2 separate regions of the Homo sapiens genome follow, and region 2 is linked to region 1. Evidence: promoter capture Hi-C in human tissues and cell types (Jung and others, 2019). All regions are on one chromosome and are shown on one strand. Each heading gives the region's core, a stretch centred on a gene start or on the middle of the fragment in contact. The rest is flanking DNA. Distances are from core to core; before and after follow the strand shown.

Region 1 (3,649 bases), core at 391-2,890:
TTGGGGCCCACAGTGAAATCACTAACTAAAAGCACAAACATTCAAGAAACATAGAGCTAAACAGACAGGGAAAACAGTACCCGTTTACAATATGAGAGCTGAAACAAGAAGGTAGAGGTAGCCTTGTTCCACCTCAGCTGGAGGCATGTGTGTTGGGTGACTCATTTTCAGTGCTCTGCACATATCCACGCATGACTGAGAAAGCCCTTTGAGTACCAATTCTGGGGTTACAAGTAAATTTTATCGATGAGATAAACTTGAATCTACTAAGTCCACCAATAAGTATCAGTAAATGCATCTGTGGAATTGAATTGGATGTTATCACCTGACAACAAACATTTGTAAGTTATTAGTGAGTGTATTTATTGTGATTCTGAGCTGTGCAAGTCAAGGAATTTCTATGAAAGATACATAAATGTTAATACACATATCTGATTAATACACATACCTGTATGGGTTTTTTTCTCATGTAAAGACAGCTTAGTGAATTTTGGAGGTAAGGGTCTTCGAAGAAGCAGTGGGGGCTTTTGCATTTTAATGAATAATAAGTGCTGTTTTTCATAATCCTTGGTTTAAATGAGAATTGAAAAGGTTTTGAATATGTTTGAATTGTTGAAAAATAATAAGAATTTAGATTACATCTTAAAGAAAATCATTCTGTACCAATACTCTACTGAATCCAGGCAGAATTCCTTTATGAAAAAAAAAGAGGGTAAGAAAATAATTCTTTAAAACTTCTATTAATAGAAAGAATCCAGTTAAAATGTAGGGTTATAAGTAAACATAGAATTTTAAAAATATGTGTATTATTACTACCCAGGATCATTCTACAATTTTCCATGTTAGTACAAAGTTCAATTTGCCAATGCTATTTCAACTAGTAAATACTGATTTTTCAGAATAGTCGAAATGACATTTTTTTTCTCTCTCTCCAAAATGTTATCGCTATAAATGTAGAAAGAGAATTTGGTCAGAAATGTGTAGAAGATGCCTTCATTAGATAAGCCTCTGAAGACCCACCATATCTAACCATTCACAAACAAATTGTTTTCTTTCTATAATGGCTTGTTTTTCAACCACTATGCTTGGGCCAAAACAATTCAATCCTAAAATAAGATGGGTTTCACTATAATGAGATTTCCCAGGGCTGCTGGATCCCAACTCATACTGTTTAGAAATAATGCGAGAAGATGCACCCCCAAAATGTGCTTTTAGTTTGCAGGGCAACATCAAAAGTGCCTGGCACGGCATTATTCCATTGATAGCCTAGAAGGGAACACCCTGAAACTGCACAAATGGGCCGTTTACCGCCAAAAGATAACTGCACACAAGCGCTCAAGGTGTACTCCCTGGTCATATGTTCCACACGATGCTGGAAATCTCCCTTCCGTAGTACCCAAAGAGGGGCATGGAAGTGCTGGACTCCCACACTACCCTTTAGGATAATCGGCCGCTTTCCAAACCAACTGGCTTTTCGTCTCCTATCTCCTTTTCCTCGGAATCTAGGCAGCGAGGTAAAGGTCCAGCGAGGGTCTTCCTGCAGGAGGCTGTTCCCGAAGAAGCACCACGGATCCCCACCCTCTAGGAGGCCAAGGAGACACACCCTAGCAACCGGGGTCCGCTAAGCCAGCCCAGCCACTTGACGCGCAGGCGCGGGGGCGGGACAGGCGAGGCGGGCGCGGGACAGGCGAGGCGAGGCGGGCGCCGGGAGGGGCAGGCCCAGCCCACGGTGCAGCGCGCGCGGAGCCCTCGCCTTCCTCCGACGCACTGTGGGGCTGCAGGGGAAGCTGCGGGCCGTGGGGGCCGGAGGAGAAGCCGGCTCCACGCGCAGCTGCTGTACGGAACGCCGTGGTGACAATTGTTATTACTATTTTTATGCTTAATGGCAATGACCACTATTATTTATTATTTTCTCTCGATTACAGGATGCTTTACTTGGGTGTCTAGAATATGGGCTGGCATTCTTTAAGGCTGCACTTTTGTGCAGCCGGGTCCCGGGGCTAATTTTGCAGTGCTCTCGAAAAGCGGGCATTCGGTTTTCTTTCTCTTCCTTTCATGCAACCTGTTTTCTCTTTCTGATCCTTTAAAGTTCCTGGCTGAGGCTGGATTGTGTAGAAATAAGGGCATTAGGGATCCAAGCGGGCCATAAAAGAAACCCATTTCTCACTGTCATCGTCCTCTGTTCTGGTTATCATATTGTGACGTGTCGCCTCTGTCATGGTGTTGATGAACCTGTGTGTGCAGTCATAGATACATCGTGTGTGTTTGCAAAAATGTGCGTGTTTCTCTGGAGATTTGAGGGGGAAAGAGCACTAGAAAGAGCTCATCTGATAGATGCGGAAATCCGAACTCAGAAAGTAAACTAGGTAGAGCTTCCTTCCAGGTTTGGTTTTTTCTAAGTACTAGCGCAGGAACTTTATAACAGAAGTTGGAAAATGAGAGACTTCTGTATAAATCTTTCTAGCTTTGGGGATCTTTCAAGATTCACACCATAACCATGTCTTCCTTTTTCTCCTTAGTAGCAAACATGTTTTAAAACAATCAATGAAAAAAGTAGAAAAGTTTTAACAAAAAAGTAATCAGACTCTGGAAAATATTATGCAACTTGTTTTCCTTTACAGTAGTAGTGTACTGTTTCTTTTCCTTGTAAGTTTACTGTGTCCCAATTATACTGCTGCCCCAGACTATGAATTTATTTCCACTTTTGCTGTTATCTACACCATAGATTCATTAGTTTCTCAGAAATACAAAGCTGAAAATAAAAGGCAGCTCTGTGGCTAAGATTAGTCTCAAGTAATATATATCGTGCATATTTTGTAAATGTGAAAAAAGGTTTATATTTTTAAGCATAAAAAATGACAGTGTAAATTGAGTCAGGTACCTATGCTCTTCAAGATCGTTGGAACCATGAGAACTACAGGAATTCAGTTTTACTGACTGACGTTTGGCCTTTAAAATTTATGCTTAGCTTTGTGTAGTCGAAAGCAAGGCTTCTGAATGCTTTTTCAAAAAATGCTTTGTCACACTTGGAATCCGCAGGCATCCAGGTATCATTCCTTGCAGATTTCTTCTAGCAAGTATGAGACTAAAACCTAGGGCGGTTTAATATGTAATCTCAGGTGTGAACATTTTGTCTTCTATTTCTACCACTTAGTACCAAACATTTAGGCAAATGAGATAGTTATTATGAAAATTAAATCCATGGCTTGGTATATTTTATATGTATATATGTTATTCTAACACATCTGACTCGCTTTGTCTATGGAAATGATATATCAGTATAGGATGAGTTTAGACAGGACAAACAAAATTCAATTTAGATTATTTTATAGTTCTTATATTTTTGAAAATATTATCCCCTCAATTTTCTTTCTTCTTTTGTAAAATAACGTGTTTTTGAAATAATGAATAACTCCCTTTTGGATTTTAAGGGTCTGCTTTTTCTGATGTATGTACGGTCAGCCTATTTATTTGTTCCGTCCCCTTTGCAGTTTGGCAGAACCTTATGAAGAAGCTTCCCAAACTGAACCACAGTGCTTTCACTCTATTAGCAAATTGTACTAAAGATGCCAGCGTAATGATGAGTGCCAAGGTTATAGACATCCTGCATTTTTTAAATGTTGCTAAAATGAGATAAAAGCCTTATGCA
Region 2 (3,649 bases), core at 519-3,018, 390 kb after region 1:
TCCAACTCCGATGCGCTGCTTTAACAAATTATACCACAAAACATTGTTTGTGTGCCAGGCTCTATGTGTCTGGAGGTCCAAAGACATTTAGCACTGGTCTCTTTCCCCACAGTGGTTTTCAACTCCACCTGCATGTTGGAATCATCTAGGGAGCTTGAAACCAAGGGGAAGGGCTGAAACCTGGGTCTCAACCCCAGATACTCTGCCTTAATTAGATGAGGTTAGGCCCAGAGCCTTCCAGCTTACAAAGAAGGAAGAAAATGGCCAGTGACAGGTGAGGGGTATGGAGGCTACCCCAGACCACTTTGAATATTCTGTTATTGCTTTTGTTAATAGCAGAGCTTTATCGACAGCAGCAAGGGGGGCAGGTCCTGTGCCTGCTGTGGGCCTGACTACATTCAATCTAACTTACAACCCTTTGAGGCAGCTAACATTACTGACACTCTTAGAGAATTCGATGTGGCGTTGTGGGACAAATAAAGGGTTTGGCACTAAAAGGAATTGACTTCAAAACCAAGTTCTGCCAGTTTTTACTTGTATAATTTTTTAACTGAAGTTCACTTAAACCTAAGTCAGATTTGCCTAGTATGTAAAACGGGTTGTAAAAATTGCCCTAATTATAGAGTGGTGAAGATTAAACAGATGAGAATGGATCTTTGACCTTTGTAAGGCCTAAAATGTAGACTATTTGGTACTATGTTCACTGTTTGGGTGATGGGTTTACTAGAAACCCAAACCTCAACATCACTCAATATACCCATGTAACAAGCCTGCACATGTACCCTTGAATCTAAAATAATATTTTTTTAAAAATACAGTCCCAATGTTACTACAGAGGAGAGAGCTGAGGCTCAGAGCCAGTAAGTAATTTGCCCAAGGTCACACCAGGTCACAGCCCAGATCTTTGACAAACACTGTCAGCACCACTCCCTATACTGTCAGGCCTGTAGGACTAAACCACCAGATTAACACTTGCACAGTGCCTGCTGGCCCTGAAGGCCTTTGCATCTTTTGACCTTGTCTTAAAGGTAGGGTAGGATAGTGCTGAGTGATGAGAAGCAGGACAGGCTTCATGGTGTCTTTGGATAGCAGTTTTGAGACCAAAATCTTTCAAGTGCTTGGAGAATCACAGAATAGATGGAGTTCTCTAGGGCTGAGAGTTTACATTCAGGTAACTGGAGAGTTTTAAAGCTGAAAGGCATATCAACGGTAGATTTCACAAAGGAAAAGAAAATTGGAAAAACTCCAGAAGTAGACTGAGATTTAAGGTTTTTAAAGTAATGCTATAAAAAGACCTGCCTGGGAAAATAGGGCAGACTTGCCTTGCCTATAGTGGTTCTGAGGATCAGCTGAAATAGTGTACACGTGCTTTAAAAATTCGGAAGCAGCAGTTTTCAGCTCTGGCCACGTATTAGAATTGCCTGGGGAGCTTTTACAGAACTCCAGCTGTAGGTGCCCACCCCAGACCGATTAAGTCAGCACTCTAGGGTTGGGCCAGGCAGTGGTCTTCGTTAAACGCTCCCCAGGCAGTTAGATTGTGCCTTTACAGTTAAGAAATCACCACTCTAAAGCGTCATGAGAATACGAGTTGTAATTCTTTTATTATTCAAGTAGACCCAGGACTATTATGGAATAGGATGCCCACCTTCTACTGAGGTTCAAATAAGAGCTAACAGCTTTAATCTGGAGCAGAGGGGACGGGTTAGATCTAAGGAGAAGCTTTCTGTCTGGAGAGGGAGGGATTCAAAGAGCTCCTAAAGTGCTCGCCCCTCTCCAGGGTGCAAGGACCTTGGGACGACTTTGTGGCCTTTGTTCTTCATTTCCTCATTAAGAAAGAAAATAAAAACAGCCTCACAGAGATAACTTTCCAGGCTGGGGAGGAGGCCATGGGGCAGGCCGTGAAGTGCAAGAACACGGCACTTTAAAACCAGCTCCGTTTCAGGACAATGATGAGTTTCTGTCTTCCAGGCCTGCGGCACACCCAGCTCCCAAACAGCAAACATTTGTCATCCAGGCTGAGGATTTCAAGTCCTTTACAAGTAACATTTTTCTGATGATATAAAAAATAAGTTCATTTTCAAAATTAGGAAATCAAAAATATAAGAAAATAAAATCACCTATAATCCTACTGCCCAGAGGCAATCATTATTAATACCATTTTTGCCTGTTCCCTAGTCTAATATATATATATATATATATATATATATATATATATTTGATAATGAAAATGTTAGCTCACTTCTTCACAGCATTGATCACTCAAGTTAGTAAATTTGTAACTGAAGCTTAGATCAGAAAGACTCAAATCCAAATGCAGTTTAATGATCTTAAAAGTCCTTTTGGCTCAGTCTGTTTTCAAATGGTCCAATATACTGTCTTACTATACTTGGAAAAAATAATGAATGATTGCTAAGAAAATATGTTCACCTCTAGGAAAATTATATTGGAGCTGAAGAACAAGTTCCCAGATCACATTCTAGAAAGACAGCAATTTTTCTGTTCTCTGTTCCTGAATCATGGCAGTGGGACACCATATAGGTCCGCATTGAGACCCCAGTGTCTTCAGAAAAGCTCCCTGTTGCACCAGCTGTCTCAGGGATGATGCTGGGGAGCTTGGACTGGGAGCGCCAAGGAGCCAGATTTCTCTGAGACACTCTGGGTCCACGTGTCACTTGCAGCAGGGGACACATGTCACAAGAGCAAAGGGGTATAGTCCTGCCGGGGACCCACAGGTGTGAAGCATTCCCTACAACGGCCACTGATAACCCTCATAAATCACTCCTGGCTGGTACTCAGGCCCCTACCCCTGCTCTGTGGAGGGTGGTGCTGAAAGATAAGAAGCAGAAATCAACTGGGCACATGAAAAAGAACCTCCAGATATTTCACAGTGAACATTTGTTCTTGTTCTCTCTTCCTACCCAACGTGCTGAGCAACAAACTGTCTCTTGACTGCCTTTTGGCCCCACTCTCATTGATTTTCAACCCAAGAATTGAGCGCAGCTATTTCCTAGGGGCCATGTCTAGGTAATGATATAATTAAGAGGGCCACAGAGTCATTTGCATAACACTTGCTCATAATTAGCATCTTTGCTATAGTTAATTAGGACAATGGTTAAAAATCTCTACGGTGATTTTCCACCTTGAAGTCTAATTATTTTTATGACACCAAATTTTTTTGATGGCATACTATGTGTCAGGCACTCTACTGGGCCATGGGGCAGTAGGTTCAGGCCTTTAAGAACCAATGGCTTTGCTGGGGAGACAAGAAATCAAATTCATGTGACAGTGTGATTGGGCTACTAGTACCTGTATTTGAATCCTAGAGCTGCCACAACAAAGTACCATGAATTAGGTGGCTTGAATAACAGGAATTGATTGTCTCACAGTCCAGGTGTTGGCAGGGCTTGTTCCTTCTAGGCTGTGAGGGATAATTTGTCCCAGGCCTTTCTCCTGCCTAATGGCAGCCTCGGGCATTCCATGGCTTGTAGATGGCATTCTCCCTGTGTCCTCACATCATCTTTTCTATGTGTCTATGTCTGTTTCTGCCTCCAAATTCCACTTTTTACAAAGACACCAGTCATATTAGATTAGGGCCCACCTTAATGACCTCACCTTAATTCAATCAACTTTAAAGACCCTATCTTCAAAT

Evidence for each region. The method cuts DNA at HindIII sites, captures the fragments that hold promoters and counts their contacts. A contact is called where the count stands out against the background at its distance.
Region 2: a fragment that was not itself captured here is called in contact with the fragment with the promoter of LRRC63 in region 1 in 1 of the 25 tissues and cell types used here (dorsolateral prefrontal cortex).

The regions. Positions count from the first base shown.
Region 1 is chr13:46,209,919-46,213,567 of GRCh38, reverse strand. LRRC63 (leucine rich repeat containing 63) reads right to left here and starts at 1,640. Exons shown (of 10, transcript NM_001282460.2): 1 at 1,309-1,640; 2 at 449-566. The coding sequence starts at 533. It overlaps LOC107984578 (a long non-coding RNA gene), which reads left to right and starts at 1,716. Exons shown (of 4, transcript XR_001749863.3): 1 at 1,716-3,649. RefSeq lists a silencer at 1,555-1,884. The HindIII fragment of the contact is 9,677 bases long and covers 1-3,649 here.
Region 2 is chr13:45,821,087-45,824,735 of GRCh38, reverse strand. The region is part of intron 1 of SIAH3 (siah E3 ubiquitin protein ligase family member 3); the gene reads left to right. Among named protein-coding and RNA genes, the nearest start is that of SIAH3, 29 kb to the left of the region's middle. The HindIII fragment of the contact is 3,191 bases long and covers 173-3,363 here.